Regions from separate parts of the Homo sapiens genome. Here all the other regions are linked to region 1. The links are contacts of gene promoters, found by promoter capture Hi-C in blood cells and fetal thymus (Javierre and others, 2016). All regions are on one chromosome and are shown on one strand. Each heading gives the region's core, a stretch centred on a gene start or on the middle of the fragment in contact. The rest is flanking DNA. Distances are from core to core; before and after follow the strand shown. Region 1 holds the start of NTAQ1 (N-terminal glutamine amidase 1). Region 2 overlaps FAM91A1 (family with sequence similarity 91 member A1). Region 3 overlaps FAM91A1 (family with sequence similarity 91 member A1). Region 4 overlaps LOC105375739 (a long non-coding RNA gene). Region 5 overlaps ANXA13 (annexin A13). Region 6 overlaps ANXA13 (annexin A13). Region 7 overlaps ANXA13 (annexin A13).

What was found. The method cuts DNA at HindIII sites, captures the fragments that hold promoters and counts their contacts. A CHiCAGO score of 5 or more calls a contact.
Region 2: a fragment that was not itself captured here is called in contact with the fragment with the promoter of NTAQ1 in region 1 in 1 of 17 cell types (M2 macrophages); the score reaches 5.0 in M2 macrophages.
Region 3: a fragment that was not itself captured here is called in contact with the fragment with the promoter of NTAQ1 in region 1 in 1 of 17 cell types (M2 macrophages); the score reaches 6.9 in M2 macrophages.
Region 4: a fragment that was not itself captured here is called in contact with the fragment with the promoter of NTAQ1 in region 1 in 7 of 17 cell types (naive CD8 T cells, M1 macrophages, naive CD4 T cells and 4 more); the score reaches 6.5 in naive CD8 T cells.
Region 5: a contact is called between a fragment that was not itself captured here and the fragment with the promoter of NTAQ1 in region 1, in 1 of 17 cell types (M1 macrophages). The highest score is 5.6, in M1 macrophages.
Region 6: a contact is called between a fragment that was not itself captured here and the fragment with the promoter of NTAQ1 in region 1, in 4 of 17 cell types (naive CD4 T cells, total CD8 T cells, erythroblasts and 1 more). The highest score is 6.8, in naive CD4 T cells.
Region 7: a contact is called between a fragment that was not itself captured here and the fragment with the promoter of NTAQ1 in region 1, in 6 of 17 cell types (naive CD4 T cells, total CD4 T cells, non-activated CD4 T cells and 3 more). The highest score is 7.0, in naive CD4 T cells.

What each region holds. Positions count from the first base shown.
Region 1 is chr8:123,415,161-123,418,999 of GRCh38, forward strand. NTAQ1 (N-terminal glutamine amidase 1) reads left to right here and starts at 1,614. Exons shown (of 6, transcript NM_018024.3): 1 at 1,614-1,772. The coding sequence starts at 1,690. It also overlaps a transcript of ATAD2 not described here. RefSeq lists silencers at 1,193-1,672, 1,783-1,982, 2,303-2,352 and an enhancer at 1,786-2,380. The HindIII fragment of the contact is 17,257 bases long and covers 1-3,839 here.
Region 2 is chr8:123,790,251-123,794,089 of GRCh38, forward strand. All of the region lies in intron 15 of FAM91A1 (family with sequence similarity 91 member A1), which reads left to right. Among named protein-coding and RNA genes, the nearest start is that of FAM91A1, 24 kb to the left of the region's middle. The HindIII fragment of the contact is 1,624 bases long and covers 1,094-2,717 here.
Region 3 is chr8:123,772,969-123,776,807 of GRCh38, forward strand. It overlaps FAM91A1 (family with sequence similarity 91 member A1), which reads left to right. Exons shown (of 24, transcript NM_144963.4): 2 at 1,112-1,196; 3 at 2,179-2,330. Among named protein-coding and RNA genes, the nearest start is that of FAM91A1, 6.4 kb to the left of the region's middle. The HindIII fragment of the contact is 5,525 bases long and covers 1-3,839 here.
Region 4 is chr8:123,756,078-123,759,916 of GRCh38, forward strand. All of the region lies in intron 1 of LOC105375739 (a long non-coding RNA gene), which reads left to right. Among named protein-coding and RNA genes, the nearest start is that of FAM91A1, 10 kb to the right of the region's middle. The HindIII fragment of the contact is 3,275 bases long and covers 284-3,558 here.
Region 5 is chr8:123,725,663-123,729,501 of GRCh38, forward strand. All of the region lies in intron 1 of ANXA13 (annexin A13), which reads right to left. The region is part of intron 1 of LOC105375739 (a long non-coding RNA gene); the gene reads left to right. Among named protein-coding and RNA genes, the nearest start is that of ANXA13, 9.8 kb to the right of the region's middle. The HindIII fragment of the contact is 3,043 bases long and covers 600-3,642 here.
Region 6 is chr8:123,701,158-123,704,996 of GRCh38, forward strand. ANXA13 (annexin A13) reads right to left here. Exons shown (of 11, transcript NM_004306.4): 3 at 1,485-1,579. Among named protein-coding and RNA genes, the nearest start is that of ANXA13, 34 kb to the right of the region's middle. The HindIII fragment of the contact is 1,118 bases long and covers 1,459-2,576 here.
Region 7 is chr8:123,682,784-123,686,622 of GRCh38, forward strand. ANXA13 (annexin A13) reads right to left here. Exons shown (of 11, transcript NM_004306.4): 10 at 1,827-1,939. Among named protein-coding and RNA genes, the nearest start is that of KLHL38, 31 kb to the left of the region's middle. The HindIII fragment of the contact is 5,117 bases long and covers 1-3,839 here.

The sequences.
Region 1 (3,839 bases), core at 364-2,863:
TGCTTAGTTTCGCTGGATACAAAATTATTGGCTGATAATTGTTTTGTTTGAGGAGGCTAAAGATAGGGCCCCAATCCCTTCTAGCTTATAGGGTTTCCCACTCACTTTAAAGGAGAAATGTTTACCAGAGTTGTTATATAGCATAGAGGCTATGTGGAAGTTTGTATTAGGAGCTGAGAGGCAATAAAATTGGTAATTGACACAGGAACTGTGCTCCAAGTCTTTAGGATTTATCAGCTTTGAGACTGAAGAGATTGGAGAATCCAACTGTGGATGGCTAAAATCAATGTAAACATCTCAGTTTTTATAATGGGAAGTACCCTGATTAGCTAGCTATGCTCATTGCAAATATAAACAATTCAGAAGACTGTAAAGTGTAAAGACCTTGAAACTGAAAGTCCCTGATATTAATATCATTCATTCACCAGAGATAAACACTATTTTTTTTTTTTGAGACGGAGTCTCACCCTGTTGCCCAGGCTGGAGTGCAATGGCACCATCTCGGCTCACTGCAACCTCCGCCTCCCGGGTTCAGGCGATTCTCTTGCCTCAGCCTCCCGAGTATCTGGGATTACAGGCGCGCGCCTCCACGCCCAACTAATTTTTGTATTTTTAGTAGAGACGGAGTTTCACCATGTTGGCCAGGCTCGTCTCGAACCCCTGACCTCGTGATCCACCCGCCTCGGTCTCCCAAAGTGCTGGGATTACAGGCGTGAGCCACCGCACCCGGCCCTAAACACTATTTTAACAATATGGTGTCTTTTCTTCCAGACTGCCAGTAATTGAACAAAATATATGATTAACACAAAAAGGATACCATATGGACTCTTTAAACTTTTTTTTTTCAAATTTACTGTATCAGGGAATTAATATATCTTTTCGAGCCAATAGCTACAGGCCTTCCAATTTAAAAGATTAAGTTACAATAGAGTGAGATTTGGGGTGCTATCCCTTTCGGAAAGCGTCCTCGATGCGGTCATATTGGAATTAACCTCCACTCCCCTCTTCTCTGGGCTCCCGCAGACTCCAGGCTGAGTGCAGAAGCGTGGATTTTCACACCCAAACCTCTGTTATTTCAGTGTCTCACCTGGCTTCTCCACAGCGCAGAAGCTCAGCCCCTGGTTGGAAGAGCCTCCCCGCGGAGATTCACAGCAAAGCGCCATTCAGGGCCCAACTCCAAGCCCAAACCTAGCTCCTCCCCAAGCCGCCGCCAGAGACCCCTCTTCTCCCAAAGCTCACCGGGGCCCCGCCCCTGACTCCGCCCACCAGAGCCCGGTCCTCCAGTCCCGCCCCATCCCGGGCCCCACCCACCAGCCGGGCTCCGCCTACCCGGAAGCGCGCTGTCCTCCTCGTCCCGGGCTCCGCCCACCGGGAGTTCGCGCCACTCACCCCACCCCGGACCCGCCCACTTCGCTTGGGCTCCACCCTCCCAGGAACTGGCGCCGCTTGCCCCGAGCTCCGCCTACTTCGTCCCGGGCTTCCCGCGCCGGGAACTCGTGCTGCTAGTCCCGCCCTGGCCCCGCCCACCGCGCTACTGGCCCCACCACCCGGAAACTGCCCCGGCCCTCTCCCCCCGGGCTCCGCCCACCCCACGCCGGGAACCCACGCGGGCCACTACAAGCCCGCCCTTTCCTACGTCTGGTCCAGTCGGTCTTCCTCCGGCCCGGGCCCTGGCCCAGCTAGCCGGCCATGGAAGGTAATGGCCCCGCTGCTGTCCACTACCAGCCGGCCAGCCCCCCGCGGGACGCCTGCGTCTACAGCAGCTGCTACTGGTGAGGGGGCGCGGGCGCAGCCTCTGGGTCTCCCAGGCTCCCGGGCGGCGAGTCGCAACCGGGCCCCGCCTCTTCCCGGCCCCTCCTCGGGGGCGCTCCCGGCCTCTACCGGCGGGTTCTACAGTTTTGCGGGAGGAGGGAGCGGGAATGGCAGCTCTCGTCTCTTGAGTAGAGCGTGGGCTATTGGATGGGGTTGGGAATTCGTCCGGAATCATAGGGTCGATAGTGCATTACCTGTGCCTGGCGCTTGTCGGTTGGATTTGCTCAGCAGATCTCTGCTTCGGGGCCAGGAAGGGTGGAGCTCTGAAAATCTTTGGGGGTTACTCTGCTGAAGCCTGTGGGGTTTCAGACTGAGGTGAAGGTCATTTTAATTTTGTAAGAGAATGAAGGCACGGAGAGTTTTTCATACAGCACTTGCTATATGCCACGCGTTGTTCTGGGTGGTTTAGGTAAACTAAATCACTGAGCATCACAATAACCGTAAGAGGTAGGTATTGTTATCCCCAGTTGAAAGATGAGAGCACTGAAGCACAGAGGGCTGCAAGTAATTTGCGCAGGGCCACGTAGCTTGTGAATGAAGGAGTGGGGATTTACAGTCAGGGTCTGGCCCCGGAATCCACGCAGTGCACCCCTGTCCTAGGCCACCTCTGCAGCTGAAGTACCGCCCTTGCCTTAGTCCTCATACCTACTCTTTCCTGAGTAATGGCTTCTTCCCCAGCTTCTAGTCCTTGTACAGGAAACCTCAGTGCTATCTAAACCTACTCCTCCCCCTTCTGCTGGTCACTAAACCAATGCCACCAAGAGCTTAACATTTGTTCGGCCCTGATTGCATGTCAGGCTCAGTGGCAGGTGCTTCCATCGATGTCCAGGAGGTACCTTCTTTTATTATCGTTATCCTCATTTTACTAATAAAAAGACTGAGCCACAGAGAGGCTGTTCTGTGCCCCCAAATCACACATCTAGCAAGTGGTGGTGCTGAAACTGGAACCTCTTCGTGATTCTGAAGTTCATGCATCTTAACTACTGCACTATTTTTCTGTCCTGCCTCTCTTCTAAATCCCGTTAGTTCTCCTCCCTAATGTCCAGTCATTGTTTTATTCATTCATTCAATAAATGTTTATTAGGCACTTGGAGTATGTGGCATACTTCTGGGCACTGGGGATATAGCAGTGAACAAAATCGACAAATTCCCTCATGGATCCCTTGGTTCTTTCATTTTGAGAGAAAAGCAGATAAGGCCCGGTGCGATGGCTCACGCCTGTAATTCCAGCACTTTGGGAGGCCGAGGTGGGCGGATCTCTTGAGGCCAGGAGTCTGAGACCAGCCTGGCCGACATGCAGAAACCCTGCCTCTACTAAAAATACAAAAATTAGCCAGGTGTGGTGGCGTGCACCTGTAATCCCAGCTACTCGGGAAGCTGAGGCAGGAAAATCGCTTGAACCTGGGAGGTGGAGGTTCCAGTGAGCTGATGCCACTGCCCCTTCCTGCCTGGGCAACAGAGCAAGACTCCATCTCAAAAAAAAAAAAAAAATAAAAAGCCAAAAAAACAAGTAAACCATGTTTGGGTGATGTTAAATACTATGAGAAAAATAAGATAAAGGATGGTGACTTATCTTCTATTAGGATATTTTGAGAAGACATTGTTGATAAGGTGATATTTGAAAAGAGATCTGAAAAAAGAGGGTGGGAGCTTTGCAACTATTGGAGGATGGTTGTTTAAGCAGGGAGAACAGCAGGTACAAAGGCTCTGAGAAGGAATGGTGCTGTGAGTGTGATAGGAACAGTGAGGAGGCTGGTACAACTGGAGTATTGGAGTTAGAGCAGTCTTGTAGAAGAATGGTAAGAGATGACCACTCTACCACAGAGTTTCTCCATCTTGGCTTGAGTGACATTTTGAGCATGATAATTCCTTGCTATGGAGGCTGTCCTGTGTATTGCAGGACGTGTAGCAGCATCCCTGGCTTCTACCCACTAGATACTGTTAGCACCCTAGCCCTAGTTATGACAACCAAAAATGTCTCCAGACATTGCTAAGTGTCCTGTAGGGGTTGGGGGGCAAAATCGCCT
Region 2 (3,839 bases), core at 656-3,155, 380 kb after region 1:
AACTTTAATGGAGCTGTTGCCCTACTGGGCACTCTCAGTTTTGTGATAGTTGGGGGTTCCCAAACTTTAGTTGAATTGATGGTGTCAGAATTTCTACCCAGATGGGGATTTGGATTCAGTAGGTTTTGAGGTGTGGCATGGCACTCAGGAATGTGTGTTTTTTAAAAGATGATTCCAGTGCTCAGCTAGGCTTGGGCACCCCTGCATGAGCACTTGGCTCAAGTTCTTAGACATTCACAAGAGTTGTGTCTTGGGGCTTCATGGGTCCTCAATACCACTATAACGTTTAATTTTGATTAGTTTCATTTACCTAAAAACTATTTTTTCTGGCCAAGAACATCAGTTTCTTAATCATCTCCATTTTCATTTATTCTCTCACTAGCATCTGGCTTTCTTTTCAGCTCAATTTTAAAAATTGAGGGAGGATTCAGCTGTTACTTAACAAGCTGTCACATAGGTGAGAACAAACATGCTGGGTAGTTTACTTGAGTGAGGCTAGACTCACTTGGTATCAAGTGATTCACTTCTGCAGCCTTAATATGCCTTATCTGAAGAATTACAGATTGTTACATACTGGGGCTTTTGAGATCATTCATAAATAGTTAAAACTGAGAATATTAAATTGCCAAATGCCGAGAGTCCTAAGCACTTACTGGTAGGCATTTGTTGATGGATAACCATTTTTGGTTAATAAATACTAAATCATGTGATAAAGCAGTGGTGAGTGGCACAGTCTTGAGGATGTCTTTGGATATAAAACTCCTGGAATTTCTGGGACTTTTTAGTGATTTATGGAGATAATGTATTAGATGATTTGAAATACTCTGTTAAAGCTGTCTTGAAATACATTGTCCTTTCCTGCCTATCACAGAATGTGAGAACATTAGAGAGTACTAGTGACCAGTGAAGTGTAACTCCTATTATAGATAAAGAAATTGGAGTTTATATTAGCTAAATCTTCTGCTTGTTTTTTAGTCATCAAAGCCCATATTATTAGTAAATGGAAGAGCCAGGAATGGAAGACTTGAATCTGTGTCTGTTGATTTTTTTTTTTCCATTGCCCTGTCCCTATATTATCTTCTCTTGAACGCTAAGCTTTGTATTCATTTACCCATAAACATTTGTTGCTTAGTAGTCTGGGCTGGGCTAAATTTTTTCCCCATGAATAGTCAGTGTACCATGAAGTAAGTTAAATGGTAAATCTAAACCTATTCTCTATGAAAATAGTCCTGTGCAATCCTAACCTTTAAGGTGGGTTTAATGTTAGACTGTTCCTGACCCTAGTTGGAGATTTAATTGCTTAGAATAATTGCTGGGTCTCCAAAGTTAAATTTGATGAATGCCTCCCCTTAAGACCAAACCTGCAATTACTTATGAAATTTCATTTTTGCTACCAGCATTTCTTAGCTTAGCTCCTCATCTGAATTGCAGAACATGGAAATGATTGGCGTGACTATTTCTCAGTTTTTCTAATGATGGTGCACATTAGTACCGTTCTCAATGCATGAAAAAGGTCATTCGTTCTATGTAGAGGATATCTTAGGGCATTAAGGCTTCATGCTCAGCCTGTTGAGAAATGTTGCTTTCTGCAGTTACTGGGCTTGGTAACTGAACCTTACTCTTTTTTAGAAAAGAAATTCTCTGCCGGGTGTGGTGGCTCATGCCTGTATTCCCAGCACTTTGGGAGCTCGAGGCAGGCGGTTCACTTGAGGTCAGGAGTTCAACACCAGCATGGCCAACATGGTGAAAACTCGTGTTTACTAAAGATATAAAAATTAGCCAAGTGTGGTGGCAGGCACCTGTAATCTTAGCTGCTCGGGAGGCTGAGGCAGGAGAATTGCTTGAACCTGGGAGGCTGAGGTTGCAGTGAGCTGAAATGACACCACTGCACTCCAGCCTGGGTGACAGACTGAGACTCCGTCTCAGAAGAAAAAAAAGAAATCCTCTAGTATTGGTGTTTTAAGCGTCTTGTTTGAGGAAAAAGAATTTTCTTTTTATGTCACTAATAATTTATACTTTGAGTATATCATGTAGTACTTGTTATCTACTATAAAGCAAAAGCATTGTGATATTATACAAGCAAACTCTGTTATACATGGAACTAGTGTCTTAGTCCTAGGAGTCCTTAATCCCTTGGTTTTAAATAGCACGGCGTACTGTTTATAAATAAAAGTCATGCGTGGTCTGTTTTTTTCTCGTTTTCTAAGCATGATTTTTTTCCCCCAGGTATCTTTGTCTTTAAAAGGACATTGTTTAACTGTGATTAGTATAAGTCAGACATAAAAACCACTGTTTATAATTTGGCATTCTAGTACTGTGGAAATGTTTAGGAATTAAACCACATTTGTAGGAAAGCAATCACAGTTGTCAAGCTATTAGAAACGTGTTCTAACCACCATGAACTCTTTAGACTTCCTACTTTCCCTGTTGTAGTATACATTAAATATTATCTATACTTGACATTGATAATGTTGAATTTTGCCTGAGGGTTAAGACGTCCCTTCACTCTTTTGTGTTTTGGGAAGGGGCTTAGTGCAAGGACCCACTTTTTCCCCGTATGACTTAGATAAGATTCACAGGTGAATTCCCCACTCCCTTCTGTTCACCTATGACAAGGTCAGAAACAGATCCACCAAATTCCCTTTCTTTGCCTCATAAGCAGTGAGTTGAACTGCCTGTTCTGAATTATCAATCAGAACAAAATGCTTGTTAGCCAAAGCTTGTTTAAGCTTCTCTCCTTCTTCCAGCCCCATGAACTTTGACTCACCCTCAACCTAAGCCAGGATGTAGCCCTTCCTTTAGGACCCCTCCCAGAAAATATGCTGACGTTATGGTTAAACATTCTGTGATCTGCTATCCTATACCTCACCCTGTCATCCTACTTCCTCACACCCCATGCTTTCCATCTACCCTTCATTGGTGATGTTAATTTTGATCACCCAGTTAATGCATTGTCTGATTTTTCCACTGTATAGTCAACTATTTTTTTTCTCTCACAACTGATAAGCAATTGGTGGGGAGATACTTTGAGACCATGCAGATATCCCACTCCTCATCAGTGTTTCCTCCTAGATTTAGAATCCATTGGTGGTTCTTGCCTGAACCATTCTGTACTTTGATGGTTGGAAATTGGTAATTTTTCCCCCACTTGAGCAGTTCTGCCATATTTAGCAGTTGTGACCAGGCATTCTCTCGTATTCTCTGTATGAATTTATGAATTCTTATCTTTTCAGTAGTCTGCGATTAGTCATTATTGTCTCTCAATTATTTTCGTGCCCCAGTTTTCTCAGATTTTGCCATGAGGATTTCCTTTAAGCTTGCTCCTGTCTCCTTTCTCCTTATGACATGCCTCCAGGTTTCTCCGCTAAGCAATTCTTTACTTTCTGGCCAAGCAATAGCATCTTATTGTGTATTTATTCTGCCTCAGTCCTGGAATCAGCCATTTGTCCTAGGAGCCTAATGTCTTTTACTGGGGATTGCTATTAGAGACCAAGATACTGGTGTTAGTTGTGCTCATTGCTTCTAGGCATTTTCAGGAGGCCATTATATGTATATATGTATATTTTTAGATGTATTCTTGCTTGAAGGAGGATATAGCTACCTTGCTCTTCTGAAGTTTCTTTTAACGTTAAATATCTCTTTTTAGAGAGCAATAGGATTTCGTATTGTTCAAAAGGATTAAGAATAAGAATGCTTAAAATCTGTTGTATGTTGAGTGAGTTCATGCTCTACGGACCAGAAATCTAGGGTACACATTTCCAAATGAGGAGCTCTTGCCCTTATACTAAAATGAGGACTTGGCTATGATTCTCTTTGTAGAGATCGGAAACTGGAGGAGA
Region 3 (3,839 bases), core at 769-3,268, 360 kb after region 1:
GGAGGAAATACAGGAAGTGTTGGTCTTGCTGTTCAGGGTGGCAGAGGAGGAAGAAAATCCCAGTGTAAGTGGACCTATGCAGTTCAAACCCGTGTTGTCCAAGGGCCAACCGCACATAATTGTACAGTTAAAATGGGACACATCATGTTCTATTTTTCTTAAAATATTACCTACCAATGGGTCCAGTTATGGGTCAGTTTACTTAGATGTGAGTTTCATCTGTCTTATTGTGAAGATTGCCTTAAGTGAAAGATGTAGGGACCTGTCTTTGGTTTTGGCTTACCTATGAGTAAGAAATACGATGAACTAAATCCTCTGATCTTTCTGTCATTACTTTCCTAAGATGTCTAATTTCACTTTATAGTGTGTTGGAAAGACCATACCTAGAAATTAGGAGGAGGATAGCAGTCATATATTAAATTAAGTTTATGGTCTCCCAGTGAATATAATGTTAACTATAATCAGGCAAACGTTGTTTGCTTTCAGGAACACTGCAACAAAACACTAAGTGCATACTAGAAAGACTTTAGCTTATTAAAAATGGCTCCGAATTCTAAAATTGTCTAAATGCCTTCTAATGAGGCCACAGGAGATTGCATTTTTAAGAAACAATCTTACGTACATTTAAATGTAAATTTTCCAGAAATCCTAATCTTTAATAATTATAACCCTCAGCTACAATTATCAAAGAGGGATGTATCTGTCCTTAGTTGCCATTCTTAAATTTAAATAAATGTAGGGGCAGGAAACCATCTATCCAACCACTTAATATAGCAGTCAGGAAGGAAATCTTTATAAGCAGAACTTAGTTCTTTGTTAACCAAAGTGAAGTTACACTCACCTACCGGTTTTTATTTGATATTAAATACTTCGGATAATTTTAGTAAACTCTTTTAGAAAGGCAGACTGAAAATACATAGAATTTTTGCTCTGAATACTGTAGCAGGAAAGTTAGTATAATAACATTTAAGAAAATATTTTTTATTTAATTCTGCAAATTAGAGATGCCAGGATAAAAATGGGGGTCGTGGTTTTAAAGTGTGTTATGGGAAAAAATAGTACTATTGTTCAGTTTGGAAGTTGTTTAAAATCTTTTTGAAATTTCTCCTAGAGTCTTGGAAATTCACAGAGAGAATATGAAAAGCAGGTTGTCCTGTACAGTATCCGCAATCAGTTACGATATAGAAATAACTTAGGTAAGTAGAGCCATGTTTATATTGGGGTGGAACTGACCACTACTCTTTCACATTCGTAAATCTTTCTTTTCAATACATATTTCATAGTACTGAGATTATTCCATGTACAGACTTTAAGAAACTCTACACTGATCCATTCCACCTAACAACAATTTGTATTAGCAAGTAGATTTTTCATTCTAATTCTGATAAAAATTATTTTTAGAGTACTGTTTATGGACTCATTTTATCTATAAAATAATCTTAATTCAAATGTCCTCTTTTTGCCTGAGGTAAGAAAATATGCCATAAAAGAAAAAGTATATTAGTTCTTAGTAATTTTTGACTTTGGGTTGTCTCCATAAATTTTCCAAATAATATGAAAAACTTTATAATAATTGGGACACATTTTAAACATAGTTCATTCCATGATTTTTTTTTCTTCTTTCTAAAAAAAAATTTGTTTATTTATCAGATTATTTTGGTTAGTCTATTCTGTTGCCCTGGTAGTCTTTCACTCCTGTTTGTTACTCTTATTTTAAGCATAATATTTCTGACATTGTTTTTCTTCATGAACATTTTCCATGAAAGTCAGAGGGCTTTTTACATTTAAAAACTAAAAAAGCAGCAAATAATTTTTAAAAATAGACTTGACTTCATTGAAAACGAGCATTCAGTTTGGCTCTCTTGTAAGGTAGTAGAATACAATTCAATAAAGCTCTGTTTTGTACCTTTTTGGGGGGCATGCTGGTAGTTCCATGCTTGTTTTCTCATTTGGCAAGAATTATTCTCTACTAATCTGTCCTATTATTCATTTTACTTCTATACTCTAAAATCTATTTCATGTGATATATTTCTTTGTTCCAACTTAGAATATTTTATTTGTTCTCTTGTAATTTACATACTTTTCTTTTAAATTACTGTTGGTTTGTAAAGTGTTCATAGTTAATATATAACTATAAGAAACCTGAAAAAAACTGGAGAATTTCCCTCTTTTGTGCAGTTAAACATGTCAAGAAAGATGAACGCAGATACTATGAGGAACTGCTAAAGTACAGCCGAGATCATCTCATGCTGTACCCTTACCATCTATCGGATATTATGGTGAAAGGCTTGAGGATAACACCATTTTCATATTATACTGGGATTATGGAGGTGAGTTTACAGTGTGGGTGAGCCAGTGGGAATGGGATGGGACTACATGTCTGGGACTTTTTGCAGATGTTCACCAGCTCTTCAGCTGTCGTCTGCGGTGGACACTCTTTCAGAACTTATAGTGTAAAAAGGACTATTGGTGGCTTGTTAACTGTTTGAGCCACACTGTACAAGTACTTATCCTTATTGATGTTTTTACATTGGGAAGCTGTCTATTTCTCTTCTGGTCTTGAAGGTGCTATTGACCCTTTGTGCTGTTGTAGTACTGATCAGTCATTTATGTTGGCAGAGTCTGTGTAAAATTTATTGCTTTTTAAAACGTGATTAAGGTTGAAAATGTGGGTGACAGAATTGAACATTATGTTCTGAGAAAATTAATGTATTTAGGCTGGGAGCAGTGGTTCACGCCTGTAATCCCAGCACTTTGGGAGGCCAAGGTGGGTGGATCATGAGGTCAGGAGATCAAGACCATCCTGGCCAACATGGTGAAACCCCGTCTCTACTAAAAGTACAAAAATTAGCCAGCCGTGGTGGTGTGCACCTGTAATCCTAGCTACTCAGGAGGCTGAGGGGGGAGAATCGCTTGAACCTGGGAGGTGGAGGTTGCAGTGAGCCGAGATAGCGCCACTGCACTCCAGCCTGGGTGACACAGTGAGACTGTCTCAAAAGAAAAAAAAGAAAAGAAAAGAAAATTAATGTATTTAACTATTCACTAACTGTCTAAAGAATGAATGATGACATAGACCCAACATTATATAATACAGGTGCCAGAAAAGAGAAATATGTTAGTAGTCTTGGCTGTTAATCTCTTTCTATAATTATTAACTTTTAGTTGTTAGCCTTTTTCCAAAGACAGCTTTTAGGCTTGTATTGGATAACTTTAATACTAGTTATATACTGTTTTCAAGTGAGCTTTATTAAAGATTGGCAGTATTTATTTAGTATTCATTTGCTCCTTAATTATGTTTGAGTGCTTCTGTTTGGGGCTCACTAGCCGCTTGAAGAGCAGAGAGGAGCCTAGAACTAAAGGAGTTGGGAACGTGTGGTAACATGAGGTTAGCCCTACATACGATGTGTGCTTTGCTGTTTGCTCCCTTCGTTATCTCCAGAAGCCCCTCCTTCATGGGTGCTTCTGCAGTCCCATGCATCCCGTGTTCCTCTTTTGGAGGAAATACTGGAGGAAAGCGAGAGGCCCGATAGCCCAGGTAGCATAGTGAAGAACCAGGGTAGCATAATGAAGGTGGCAGCTAATCAGGAAGTAGAATAGTTACTGCTGTCTCTTTATTTTTCTAGTGTAGTCCACAAATTTGGGAGCTAAAATAGGTGGAGTTTTTGTTTCACTTATCAGCTTTCATTTCAGTTACATCCACATGGTTGCTGCATTCTGGTTTCTGTTATTCTATCATTGGGTATAGTTCCTCGGTAGAAAACGGGCCTTATCCCCACAGGAAGCAGTGGGTTTGTTATTGGAGAAACAGATTGGGGCAGAAAAAGCTGGATACCAAGTTT
Region 4 (3,839 bases), core at 671-3,170, 340 kb after region 1:
CGCACACATGGGGAAAGGACTGTCTCTTTAATAAACAGTGCTGGGAAAACTGAATAGCCATATGCAGGAGAATGAAACTAGATTACTATCTCTCACTGTTGAAAAAATCAACTTCAGATGGATTAAAGACCTAAATGTAAGACCAGAAACTAATAAAGTACTAGAAGAAAACACAGGGAAAATGCTTTATGACATCAATCTGGGCAAGAGTTTTTTGGATAAGACCTCAAAAGCACAGGGAACAAAAGCAAAAATAGATGTAGGAGATTACATCAAGCTAAGAAGCTTCTGCACAGCAAAGGAAATAATCAACACAGTGAAGAGACAACCTACAGAATGGTTAATATCTAGAATACATAACAAGCTCAACTCAATAGCAAAACAAAAACAAAAACAAAAACAATCAGATTTAAAAATGGGCAAAAGATCTGAATAGACATATCTCAAAGGAAGATATGCAAATGGCCAACAGGTATATGAAAAATTGCTCAACATAATTCATCATCAGGGAAATGCAAGTCAAAATCACAATGAGATATAACCTCACCCCAGTCAGAATAGCTATTACCAAATAGACAAAACAATAAATGCTGGCAAAGATGTGGAGAAAGGAGAAGTCTTATACACTATTGGTGGGAATGTCAATTAGTACAACTACTATGGAAAACAGCATGGAGTTTCATCAAAAAGTTAAAAATAGAGCTACCATATAACCCAACAATCCCACTAGTAGATACATATCCAAAGGAAATAAAACCAGTATGACAAAGAGATAACTGCACTCCCATGCATATTACAGCACTATTCATAATAGCCAAGATATAAAATCAACCTAAGTGTCCATCAGTGGATGTATTAGTCTGTTCTCATGCTGCTGATAAAGACATACCCAGGACTGGGTAATTTATAAAGAAAAAGAGGTTTAATGGACTCACAGTTCCATGTGGCTGGGTAGGCCTCACAATCATGGCAGAAGGTGAAAGGCACATCTTACATGGTGGCAGGCAAGAGAGAGCTTGTGCAGGGGAACCCCTCTTTATAAAACCATCTGATCTCGTGAGACTTATTCAGTATCACAGGAACAGCATCGAAAAGACCTGCCCTCGTGATTGAATGACCTCCTACCAGGTCTCTCCCACAACACATGGGAATTATAGGAGCTACAATTTGAGATTTGGGTGGGGACACGGCCAAACCATATCAACTGATAAATAAATTTTAAAAATATACACAATGGAACCCTATTCAGCTATAGAAAAGAATGAGATCCTGTCATTTTCAATAACATGAATGGACCTAGAGGACATTATGTTAAGTGAAATAAGCCATGAACAGAAGGACAAATACTGGATGACCTCAGTCATATCCACATATGAATCTAAAGAAGTTCATCCTGTAGAAGTAAAGAGTAGAACAGTGGTTATCTGAGGCTGAAGAGGGGAGAGGGAGATGGGAGAGGTTGGTCCACCTAGATAGGAGGAATAAGTTCTGGTGTTCTATTGCACAGTAGGGTGATTATAGCAAACAATGATGCATATTTCAAAATAGCTAGAAGAGGATTTTGAATATTCTCATCACAAAGAAATGACAAATGTTTGAGGTGATGGATATGCTAATTGCTCTGAGTTGATCATTACACAATGTATACATGTATTGAAACATCACATTGTACCCTATAAATATGTACAATTATTATGTGTTAATTGAAAAAATTTTTTTGAAGAGCCAACTTTTTTTTTCAGACTCAACTTTTTGTCAAGGTTTGACCCAGCATAAAGGAGCTAGAAATGCAGTATGCTAAAAAGGCACTGGCCTGGGTTCTAATCCTGACCTAGCCATGGCTGCGTTGTGCAGAACACAACTTTTGTGAGTCTCAGTTTCCTCATCTATAAAGTAAGAGTGTATCTGCCAGGGTTTTATTTGCAAACGATAGGAGCTGACACTGGCTGAATTAAGGATTTTTGAAAAAAGATTTACTAAACAATATAGGATCTCTCAACAAACATCTGAGAAGGCTACAGAACCAGGTCTGGAACTTCAGAGTCAGGAACAACACCAAAAACCATACACCAAAATTGGACAAGTGAGAAAATCCCTGCCACCTCAGCTGCCCAGGGCTGGATGTCCCTGCAGCCCCAGGAGCTCATCTTATTGGGACTGAGAAGATTCACACAGTCCCTGCTTCCTTTCAGCACCAGCTTCGGATTCAGACTCAAGCATGAGCATATCTGATCAATGCAGCTGAGGTCACATGCTCAGGTGTTAGGTGCAAAGGTAGCTGGGAGTGAGAATATTTGGCATTTATAGGGAGGTGGGTTCAGCCAAATGAATGGCAAAAAATCCCATAGAAAGGGGTTGGATATCTAAGTTCCTCTCTAAATCTGAGGCTGTGCATACCACTGATTTTCAGTAATTGCTGCGTCTCTGCCAATGGAGCACATGTGAGATGATTTTAGTTGGAACATACAAAAACCTTTACTTTGATAGCACTGCATTATTTCATGTATTTTAGGAAAATACAATTAAGATATCAAACCTGTGAATGACACAAAAGATTTGTACAAAGTGTGACAATTTAAAGAAGAGTCTTAAGTAAATGATAGTTTAGATGATACTCAAAAAATCGTATTATTCTTCAAATGACTGAGATTTTGGAAACTGGTCTAGGTAAATGCACATCTCTAAATTCCTTTTTGTGCCAAGTAATAGTAATAATATTGATGATAACAGTGATAACAAAAGTTTATACTTTTTAGTGTTGTGGGCCAGACTCTCTTCTAAGCACTTGACATGACTTGTGGTTTTTTTTTTTAACAGCATACCAACCTTATGAGACAGTTACTATTACTATCCCCATTTTACAGATAAGGAACCTGAGGCACAAAACAGTTAACCAGAAGTCACTCAGTACACAGTCAAATGGGGAGGTGAATTCAGGCCACTACCTTCTACCTGACAACGATATGAATAGATTGGACATGGCTTCCTGTAAAATTATTGTACCTAATATCTTAGCACTAATTGAGATTAGGGGTCAGAAGCATAAAGTGAATGCTTTTACAGTGCATTTTCATGCCAAGTGGTTTGTCATCTAGAGCAGGGTTCTCATCCTTCACTCTATTGACACTTTGGGCCAGATGCTCTTGATTGTGGGGGACTGTTGTATACACTGTAGCACAGCATCCCTGGCCCCTATCCATTAGATGCTAGTAGCACCTTCTCCAGTTGTAACAACCAAAAATGTCTCTGGACATAGCCAAATGTCCCCTGGGGACAAAACTGCCCCCAGTTGAGAACTACTGGTTTAGGGAGTCTGAAGTGTCTTAGTGAAGAGTCCATTAACAATCATCAGCATGATGCAATGGTGTGACCAATTTGCTCTGGTATGTTACCTTGTGTATTCTCTCACAGTACCATGTCATTATCTGTTAATAGCAGGTGTGCTTAGCTTCTCATATCAGCAATAAATATATGGTACCAGCTTGTACCAGCTATTGGTTTTCCATGCAATGTGTGGTGAATCTTTAACTTTATGGCTTACTTATCAATGGAACAATAAGCTTCTGATTTCCCTTGAATCCAGTGGCCACACACGGAGCAAGAAACTCTAAAGGTCCTCAATCTCTTTAAATATTTAAGCCAGCCCACATTTCTTTCCCTGACTTGGTGTTTTGTCACATTTGGAATTTTTTTTCGTTCTATGTAAACATAGGACAGATTATAAACTTAGCACACTCTCCATATTTAAATATGTTCATCAGGATTTTAAAGACAAGAATTAAAACAATGATCATGATATAATAATATATCATAAAACACTGAAGAGCTAAAAAATAAAA
Region 5 (3,839 bases), core at 871-3,370, 310 kb after region 1:
CCAACAGAAAAAAATATATTTGGCAGTATACCCTGTTGGGTATATTTAAGCACAGTTTGAATACGAATATTTGGTATTTCATCATGTAGTTATTGCTGTTTTCATTAGGATTCTCCAGGATCTCACACCGACTAAAAGCAAGCCAATTCCTTCATGCCTAGAACCTCTTCCCACATTAGAAGTTTATTAATCTGCGGGGGTTGATCAGAGAGCTGTTGGGAAAGTGTGTTAGGAAACTTGAGCTCTGCCCACCTTAGTAGGGTGCTGGAATGTTACAGAGTTGTTCATTGCTGTTGATACCTCCTTTCCAAGATGCAGTATTACAGTGACTTACATGATGACTAAGTGTTTGGCTATCACTCTAAAGGGGCAGAAATATTTGTATCATTTAACAACTAAAACTAAAACTAGAAAAACATCCATTTGGATCACAGCTCAACATGATTTGCTTGCATATGTTGACTGTATGTTCTGAAAAATGAGTTCAGTTCTTTAGATTAAAACATGACCTTTCTATTACATTTGGGATTGCTTCCATGTTGGCATTTCAGCACCTTTTAATGAAGATTGGTATAGTTAGGTCATTTTCCAGAAAGACAAGCTTCCTTAGGCTATGCCATCTGGGTTACACGTGTTGATGTGATATTTACTTATCAAAGGTGACTGCAGGGCTGGGTAGGAGTTAGGAGACCTGACTTGAAGGCCCTTCAATATGCTGTGCCTTAAACTGGTGGGCACCATTGTACCTGAAGGTACTGATGGTATCCTCAGGAGTGTAAACAATGTGGGCATCCTGCCATGCACTGAGCTGTGGTATAGGGAGTCCAAGTGGGGTAGCCCTTTTGGGGGCTACACCCAAACAGAGGAGAGGTGAGCCAATCAGCTCCTGAAGGTTCCAGCCTGTGTCTTTCCAGGGGAGCACTGCTCATCTAGGCAGGAAATCCAGCAGCCCAGCAGCCTTTTTACTGAGGGTTTCTGCAGTGAAACCCTTCTCACTCTGGTATAAGAACTACTATTTGATCCAGCAATCTCACTACTGGGTATCTACCTAGAGGAAAAGGAGTCATTATATGAAAAAGATACTTGCACATGCATATTAATAGCAGCACAATTTGCGATTGTAAAAGTGTGGAACCAACCCAAATGCCCATCAATCAATGAGTGGATAAAGAAGCTGTGGTATATATATACAATAGACTACTACTCATCCATAAAAAGGAATGAATTAATGGCATTTGCAGCAACCTGGATGGGATCGGAGAATACTATTCTAAGTGAAGTAACTCAGGAACAGAAAACCAAACATCATATGTTCTCACTCATAAGTGGGAGCTAAGCTATGAGGACGGAAAGGCATAAGAATGATACAATGGATTTTTGGGACTTGGGGGAAAGGGTGGGAGAGGGTAAGGAATAAAAAACTACAAATAGGGTTCAGTGTATACTGCTCGGGTGATGGGTGCACCAAAATCTCACAAATGACCACTGAAGAACTTACTCATGTAACCAAATACCACCTGTTCCCCCAAAACCTACAGAAATAAAGAATTTTTAAAAAAGAAGAAGTTGTTACTCATGGGCTAACAGTTTTGAGAAAAACTGCTGCCTCTTGGCTGCTGCTGTCATCAACAGGAGGATAAGGGTCAATCTTCAGGAGAAGCTGACTTTTCTCTGTTATAAGAGAAGAAATCAGTGTAGGGACATGCCTGGGCCAGAAGGGCAGGAATGGTGATTTCTGGTGGAGATCCAGTGACATAAAGACATTCTGAGGACATCTGCCCTGGAGCCTTGTTTTCCCATTTAAGCGGTGGTTCTCAATAAACCAGGAGCGATTTTTGTCTCCCAGGAGACAATTGGCAATGTCTGGAGACATTTTCAGTTGGCACGAGTAGGGGAGTATTACTGGAATATCTAGTGATAGAGGCCAGGATTCTGCTAAACATCCTTCAGTAATGCACAGAACAGACAGCCCCCCTCCCCCCGCCCACACACACACAAATAATTACCTGGTCCCAAATGTCAGCAGTGCCAAGGACGAATGTGCCAAGGGTCCACAACCCTGGCTGAATGGTTGTAACGATTCTGTCAACGGGTCTCTTTAAAAAGTGTGGAGAAGGCCAAGCCTCTGGTGGTAAACGGCACACAGGTGCTGACTAAAGCAAGGCCTCCAGTCACCAAGGGCAAATTGCTGTGGTAACTTAAAAGGGAAGAATAGAAATGGACCATGATGTCTTACATTCTTTAATTTTTTTGCAAAGAAACCCAGATGACAAATCTGAAAGATGAGTGCTGAGATAAGGTAACTAGGAGGAAGGTGTGAGCTGAGATCAGTTCAAAGTGAGAAACCTGTTGTCACCTCCTGCTTCTTTGTCTGCATCAAGATTGTTGTGAACATCCCAGCCTATACCGGCAGGGCAACGTGCCCAAGTGACATCTCTCTGTTGACTCATTCTTAGGGGCCCTTGAGTGCTGTGTTGGGCTGGAGAACTTGGAGTTTCTAGTAGAGGCAGAATAACATTCATTATGTGGAAACAAGATTTTGTGTCCTGGGGAAAATGACTGTCTGCTTTGAGGTTGTCCACAGATTGTTTGGGGAGTTGGAGACCTCTGAAGAGTGCTAAACTTCCAGATATCCAATTACCACTGTATTGCATCAACAAAAGAGAACTTGGAGGATAAAGTGGTTGTGTGGAGATGATGGATATTTCTCAACCGTGAAAGGAACCATGCTTTCAGGAGTTATGAAAAATGAAGCACGTTTCTCATTAGAAAAGAATGATCCATTTCCTTCTTATATTGCCAAAGGTCGTCTTTTGCCAATTCAATGAGAGTATGAACATGGGATTCATTACTTGCAGGAAAAAAGGTAGCAAGTGTACTCTGGAATCCTCAAGAGTCAATGATAAGTGGGCAGATGGAATTGAAAAGTGAGAATATTGGGGGCTGAGCGGGGCCTTCATGGCATCAAATGTGCTGTGTAGCAGGATGCAGTCAACAGTATGTGGACAAGTTCTGATTTGCTGAAAAGGAAACAAGGTAAAATAGCTAAATTTGCTTTGAGCAAATTTCTGTCTCAATCAGTATCAAAACAATGAATGTTATTCTTTCCCTTGGTAGAAGAGTTTATGCATTGGATCCAAAAAAATTAATTCTTTTAGTTAATTAATTAATTTTTAGTCTATTATTTCTTTAAAATTATCTTTAACATTTTATCTTCCTTTTCATTCCTACTACAACCATCCAAGTCCCCATTATTTGGAAAGAGAATTATTTTCTCCCTTTCTATCTGATTTTCAAGTTTGCATCCTCCTTCTATTTCAGTCCATCTAGTAGTATTAGTATCAGTAGTGGTAGTAGTAATAGCAGTAGTATATTAATAAATATAATAGTTATAAGAAAGCGGTGATGATAAAGATAAGGCCAACCTTACTTACTATGATTATTCACAGGGTAGGTCCATGACCCAAGCCAACTGGAATTCTTCCCTGACATCTTACAGATACTTAGAGAAAGAAGAGATTTTCCTTGAGGCTGCTAATCTGGAGCTATGTGAGGCCATGGAGTTCTCTTGGTGCCTGAACTATCTATGGCCATGCCTCCCTCTCACCAGCCCCTTTTGCTTCCCATACGAGGAAAACAAAAAGCTTATTTTCAGTAGGAGAGAAAGAGGCCAACACATAGAAAGAAGAGAGAGAGAACTGAGAAGATGATTTGTTCAGCCTCAGGGATGAATTATGATTCAAGGCTCTCCTCTTCCTCTTTGCCAGTCTTGGGTTGGGCTTTTGACCAGTTCTGGCCAGTGAGATAGAAAGGGATGTCTGCTGCTTGGAGCTTTGCAG
Region 6 (3,839 bases), core at 768-3,267, 290 kb after region 1:
TTAGGGATGTTGACAGGGATAAAAATTCAGCTTCAGGCCAGGCACGGTGGCTCACACCTGTAATCCTGGCACTTTGGGCTGATGTGGGCAGATCACGAAGTCAGGAGTTTGAGACTAGCCTGACCAAAATTAAAATACAAAAATTTTACTAAAAACACAAAAATTAGCTGGGCATGGTGGCGCGTGCCTGTAATCCCAGCTACTCAGGAGGCTGAGGCAGGAGAATCGCTTGAACCCGGGAGGCAGAGGTTACAGTGAGCCAAGATTATGCCACTACACTCCAGCCTGGGCAACAGAGTGAGACTCCGTCTCAAAACAAAACAAAACAACAACAACAAAAAAAACCACACACACATTCAGCTTCATGCATTCAATTAAATGCAGTTGAACTGAAGATGCACTTATTTTCATCAAAAATTACATTGACGCACCTAATAGTAAGGAGAGAAGCAGAAAAAGCACAAAAGCACAGCCATTTGGGCCATTTAGTGTACAAGCAAATAGCTCTATTTATGGCACTGGGTCCTCCAGGAATGGATACTGTTCTTGAAGTCAGGAGACTTGGATGTGAGACTTGGATGTGAGTCCTGGTTCTCTTTTTTTTTTTTAGGTGTGTGATTTTGTAAAATGGAAACAATCATAGCTATCATAGCTTTTTCCTGTATTGGTACATGCTGGCATTATCCTGACTGATTCTCCCAGCAACCTGAGAAGGGAGCTAAGTTATCATCTTCTTTCTATCCATGAAAAGACCAAGGCCTGAAGCAATTGTTACCTGCTCAGTATCAAATAAATAGGAAAACCCATCTTCATCTTTCTATATATCTATTTATACCTACAGTGATTGAAATGGTAAAAGTTTGAAAAATATAAATGAGAATACAGCATAATAATTGATATTCATTTTGCATAATGATAATTCTAATGACATTAAGAAAAGTTTAAGTTGTGTTCATTACATATTAATAAAGAAATAAGAAAGCCTAATGCATACTTGAAGACTTCTCTCTATAAAATTATTTTCAACAATAAAAAGAATGAAAGAAAAGAAAGAAAATGTAAAGAAAAATAGGTGTTGATAGCTTAATAAAATGGAGAGTTTTTTTGGTAGTTTTCTGTAACAATCGCTTATGAAAAATTCCTGTATAAAGACCCACTTGTGGAAACTGATTTTCAAATTACTGATCTAGCTACATATGTACAGTTAGTCCCAATTAAGTGAAAAAAAGACTAGGGTCTTCATAGAAAAATGAAGTCAATTTAAGAAATGAGTTTAAGAGTATTGATTTTACAGGCTATTGAGTTAACAAAGCAATTTCAGTTTTTCTGAACTCCATTAATGCTTTTAAGTGGTTATTTCACTTTTCCTCCTGGGCTGACTCAATAAAGCTATAAAGATATTCTGCGTGGCCTGGGGACATGAGGAAGCCGAGACGGCTGAGGCCATGGCTGGGTGCAAGCTTGCTGACCACCCCTGGAATCACCTTGCCGTACGTTGCCTTGTACTTTTGCTTGATTTGTTGCCTCTCATCTGATGTCCTGCCCGATAAGATTTCAATGATGGCTGCTTCATTGGTCCCTAAAATACAGGAGAAACAAACAAAGCCACAGTGAATAAGAAACAAGGTGGAAGTTTATTTTAGTCCAGGGTGAGGAAGCCAGGACTCACAGCTTAAAGGTGGTTGGAGGTGTCTATGGAACCCAACGGACCCTTAGCTTTGATGCCTTGTGCTGAAAACTGTATTCTTTTCATTCACTTAGACAAATAGCCATTGAGGCCTCACAGCACATGGCACACAGTGCTAGGCATTGTGGTGGAAAGAGGAACGAGTATGGCTGGTTCCTTAATTTTATTCCTAGGGAAATGAAAACATATGTCCACCCAACAATTGCATGTGAATGTTCATAGCAGCATTACTCATAATAGCTCAAACGTGGAAGCAGCCCCAGTGTTCATCACCTGAAGATGAATAAACAAAATATGGGGTATCCATACAATGGAATGTTATTTGGCCAGAAAAAGGAATAAATTACTGATAGATGTTATAACATGGATGAACCTTGAGAACATTATGCTAAGTGAAAGAAGTCAATCATAGCAGATCACATGTTATATAATTCCATTCGTATGAAAGTCCGGAACAGGAGAATATACAGAGGCTGGAAGTATACTAGTGGCTGGGGGTGGGTGGGCTGCCTAGGGGGATGGTAGCTGGAGTCCAGGGCTGCTTTTTGAAGTGATGAAAATGTTCTAAAATTGACTGTGGTGGTGGTTGCATGCATCTGTGAGTATAATAAAAACTGTTGAATTGAACACTTTAAATGGGTGAATTATATGGTGCATGAATTATATCTCAATTAAAATGTTTTAAAAAACAAAAAGGAAAAAGATGGCCTGTTCCTTGGCCTCTGGGTGCTTACAATTGCATGAACAAGATTAGGATATAGGCTGAAACTGTTACAATATTAACCCCACCCATACATTTGTTAATCTCAGGAGAGAAGTCTTGATTGAAACCATGAAGGGAGGTTGCCCCTTTTAACTCCTATTACCTTTAGATTATGTTATTTTTAGAAGCTTTTTTACCCCTGATGCTCAAAGTAATACAAGCTCATGGCAGCAATTTGATCAGTACTGAAAACTATAGTGAATAAGAAAGAAGGGGAGAATGTCCTTGTTTGAACCAGGAACCAGGATCGGAAAGATGACACAGGTATTTCCAGTGTGCGAATAAGAAAGACGGTTTTACCATCAAACCCCACATTAGATTTATTCAGGTTGGACTCAAATCACAGCTCCACCCTGTACCGACTGCATGACATTGGGCAAGTGATTTTTCTTGCCAAGTCTCAGTTTTCCCACCTCTAAGATGAGGGTAATAGTATACAAGGCTATTGTGAGAATGAAATGCGAGAATCCAAGTGTGGGTCCAGTCCGCGGTGGTCCTAAGCACGCACGTGGGAAACCCGGGACACCAGGGGATGTAAATGACCACGCGCCTGGCACTGCCTCACATCCATGCAGGGTGTGCACAGGGACCACCCTCCATGAACTGCTCACCCCAGTGATCGAGCTCGGTGGGATCAAGGCACAGCAGTCAGCAATCTCTGGAGCTGGAGGAAATGTTAGAGACTATCTAGTCCAAGCTCTTCTTTACAGAAGAGGAAGCTGAGGCACAATGCAGCACCTCTTCTCGGTTCCTGCATGTACCTGACTGTTCTGCAGCATTTGAATTCTGCAGTCGGGAATTATTTTTTTTTTTTGAGACAGGGTCTGGCTATGTCACCCAGGCTAGAGCGCAGTGGCATGATCACTGCAACCTCCACCTCCTGGGTTCAAACAATTCTCCTGCCTCAGCCTCCCGAGTAGCTGGGATTACAGGCACCCACCACCATGCCCAACTAATTTTTGTATTTTTAGTAGAGATGGGGTTTCACCATGTTGGTCAGGCTGGTCTCAAACTCCTGGCCTCAGGTGATCCACCTGCCTCAGCCTCTTAAAGTGCTAGGATGACAGGCATGAGCCACCGCACCCGGCCTGCGGTTGACAATTCTTTGCGTGAAACACCTTCCTAGATGGCTTTGTACCTCCTTTCCCAGTCTTTCCTTTCTCCTCTCCATCACCTCCCTCTCAGGGTTCTTGATTGGCCTGTATTCTTCCACTGGCCTTTTAAACTCGATTTTCAGTTCTCCTCTCTATTGGAGTCACTCCTTTCCCAGGCGACTTTCGCCCTTTGACTGATGACTCCAGGATCAGCGCCTCTAGCCCTAATCTCTCCTCTGAGTTCAGATCTTATTTCCAGCTGCCTGTAGTCAACTTCCCACGGATCTCCCAAGGC
Region 7 (3,839 bases), core at 768-3,267, 270 kb after region 1:
ATCTGGCCAAACTACTATATCTAGCCAGGCCTGAAGCCTTCTGAGGTAACTGCCCACATGTTGAGATGGCCCAGGACGTGTGGTTGATTCTGAGATGGGACAGAGCTTCTTGGAATAAAACACTCCGTGGGCCATGTCGGAGTGATCACGGAACCCTCACAAGCCCTTCGGATGGATCCAGTCTCTCTGGGGGTCATTTGGAATCCTGGGTCTTCATTGTGTTCAACCTGTCCCTTTTGAGTCCCTCAAGATCTCTCATCTCTCAGTGACTTTGGCTGGAGGTCGAGTTGCTAACAGACAGAGGGACGGACAAGGCAGAAGACCTGGAGAGAAAGGAGGGAGAGGGATTTGGAGCCATGGAGGAGAGAGGCAGAGGCATGGCAGGAGCAGAGCAGAGAGACTGGCAAAGGGAAAGAGGGGAGAGAGAGAGACATGGCCTTCAATAGAAAAAGATGAGTTGTGGAGGAGGAGAAAGGAGGGGAGGAGAAATTCCAGGAATAGAAATAAAAAAGCAAGAACCATCTTGTTGCAAAGTTATATTTAAAAACAGTGTCAGATGTTAAGCATTATTTGTTAAGAAGCCATGGATCAGAATTTGGGTTGGTGTCCCTCCCCCTTCACCTCCCCCTTCATTTAACCACTTTTTTTTTTTTTTTTTGAGGGAAGATGTCTGTGGTTTTCAAGTGCTTAGTTCCACTTCATTCCCCAAGGCTTCTCCTGCTGCCGATGAAATGCCACTTCCCCTTTATTTTGTACCACCTTCTGTCTGTGGCCCCATATCCCGAACTGTTAGCTGTGACCTTTTTTTTTTTTTTTTTTTTGAGACCGAGTCTCGCTCTGTTACTCAGACTGGAGTGTAGTGGCACCATCTTGGCTCACTGCAACCTCCACCTTCTGGGTTCAAGCAATTCTCATGCCTCAGCCTCCTGAGTAGCTGGGACTACAAGTGTGTGCCACCATGCCCAGCTAATTTTTGTATTTTTAGTAGTGACGGGGTTTCACCATGTTGGCCAGGCCGGTCTCGAACTCCTGACCTCAGGCGATCCACCCACCTCGGCCTCCCAAAGTGCTGGGATTACAGGCATGAGCCATTGCACCCGACCAGCTGTGATCTTGACGGCTGCTCCCAAGCCGTTGGCTCTTCCTCTCCCTTTTCTTTCTTATACATACACATTCTCCGAGAGCAAGCACAAATTGGTTTTTAGGGGGTGAAAAAGCCCTTAATTTTTTTATGTATAAAGCACTGATATCCACATGGTATATAAACAGATTTGTAGTATTATCTCTGGTGTTAACATTTCTTGTGGGGAAGGGATGGCAATGAAGAAACACGTGTCTAAAAAGGTTCCTTAGAACAGCAATAGTTTTTAAAAAGATTGAGAACCATTGCCTTATGCTGATGTGCTTGCTTCTGCAGTGTGTTCAGTTAAGGAAAGGCCTCACTCAGGAATTCAGAAATCATTCTCTTTTTGTTCCTGCTGCTGGTTGACCTCTTTCAAGTGTGTTTGTTTTGTCTTCCTTAACATGGAGCCATGCATAGCTGCAGCCCCTGAGAACTGCTCGACATGGTTGCCTCTGCGCCCCTCCACTAGCTCTCCAGAGCCACAGAGGACAAAAAAAGAAGCAACGATCATTATTGTATTTTTATAAAAAGAAACAGATTGAAGCAGAGCACAATGTCTTCTGCAAATTCTGGGAAGGCAAGGGGCCGTCTCTGTTTTACTTTTTCTGTAAATAGGCCCTTAATAGAAACTATTTGTTGATGACATCAGTGGTGGAAAAAAGAGAAGTTGCAGCCGCCTCTTTGGAGTCGGAGTGTGTCTTACCTCGGCCCTGGTCACGACTATGCGAATCAACGTCTCCTCATCGGTCCCCGCACCCTTCATCGACTTGTACAGACGTTCAGCAAAATAGTCCTCACAATCCTGGGCACATCTCACTGGGCAGGACAAAGGAAAAGAGAATGTGAGGCTTTCACGTTTTGTGGAATGACCTTGGGACCCCCCTAAATGTCACCTGGCTGCCCTTCGAGCTGACTGGATGGTGAGACAGAGGTGTGAAAAGAGCTGACTTGACACCGTTGCGAAATGAGATTTGGAAGATTCCCTGGTCAGAGCACCTGGAATCTTCAAGCATAGCTCCCCTCCTGTCCCCTGAAGACCCTCTAGAGGAGAGCTGTGGCATCCTCGGGCCCTCCCGGCCACGTCCATGATTCTCGTTATTTCCCAGCAGAAATAACTTTCCCTATCGAGTGAAATCTCTGGTGCTGTCCTAGGGTTCTGAAGGGAAACAGATTGGCCAGCAACCTTCTGGAACAAAACTTCATCATCTTGACAATGTATCCAGTTGGACAGCCGCCTGCTCTCCTATGCTCAACAACCTCCCTACTCTTTGTTTTTCCTCACTGGGGTTGTTTTGCAAGCCTCATCTCTGAACCTTTTCCAGGTTCCCCACGATCTTTTGGTTTGCAATCCGGGATGTGGACTTGATGAAATGTTTGATCCTTTTTAAAGATCACTTTCCTACGATGCTGCTATTTGCTCTTTCCTGGCTTCCCCTTGCCTTCCAGCTTTGATCTATCTACAGCTTAATGAAGCGTGGTCTCTATTCATCAAGCAGGTGACAGGGTGCATCTCTTCTCCTGGGAATAAATCATTCCTTCCCCTCTTCCCAGGCTCATATGAATCCATCATGGCTAACACGTTAGAGGAAAAAAAAAATATTTGCCCTTTAGGCTGTTAACATTTCTCTAGAACACTTGATGATGTTAGTGATTAACAGTAAGTGATTATTTCAGCATAAATGTGGAATGTGCAATCTTACTATGTCCCATAATGGGGCTGTTGTTGTCTAGGGGACTGTCTGTGTGATTGATGCTTATAAGCAGGGGAGAGGAGCAGAGTTCGGGAAGGAGAGTCTAGTTTGGGGACCAGCCGCCTTTTACAGGCCATGTGGCAGCTGCCACAGTTTCAGTGGAAAAGAAAATCGCACCGGAAAAGAAACAATGTCTGGCCTCTTTCTCCTGAGAACAACCCAAAAGCTGCTGGATTGGTGGTTCAGGGGAAACTTGCATGCTATTCTGGGGAGTAGCATATTCAAGACTTACTGTGATCCCCAGACAATTTGAGCTAATGAGCACCACAAAGTTTTCCTGAAAATCCTCTTCCATACAGCACGGCTTGATGTGGGGATCATTGTCTGCCTGAAGTCACCGTGTTCCGCTCCTGCACAGGGATCTTCTCCCTTGACATTCCTTCTACCTGATATTTCAGGAAGAAAACTCTCAACATTTCTCCTGTCTATAATCTATGCTTGGGGAACAACCTCTGTTGTTAGCAGCAGCAGGAATCTCTCAAAAGGCTGGGCAGGGATAGCCAAAGAAGATGTGGAATAAAATTATTCACTGCAGCCAGGCATGGTGGCTCACACCTGTAATCCCAGCGCTTTGGGAGGCCGAGGTGGGTGGATCATTTGAGGTCAGGAGTTCGAGACCAGCCTGGCCAACATGGTGAAACTCCGTCTCTACTAATAACATAAAAATTAGCCAGGCTTGGTAATCCCAGTTACTTGAGAAGCTGAGGCATGAGAACCACTTGAACCCGGGAGGCAGAGGTTGCAGTAAGCCAAGATTGCACCACTGCACTCTAACCTGGGTGACAGAGTGAAACTGTGTCTTAAAAAAAAAAAAAAGAAAGAAAGAAAGAAAGAAAAAAACCTCTTCACAGCAAATGGCAGGAAAGGCAGCCAGCCCGGTGCTCTATATCTTGCTCCCCTTTGCCTTCAGAGTGAGTTCCTGAACTTCAGTGAGTATAACACAGTCACTTGGACAGTTTGTAGAA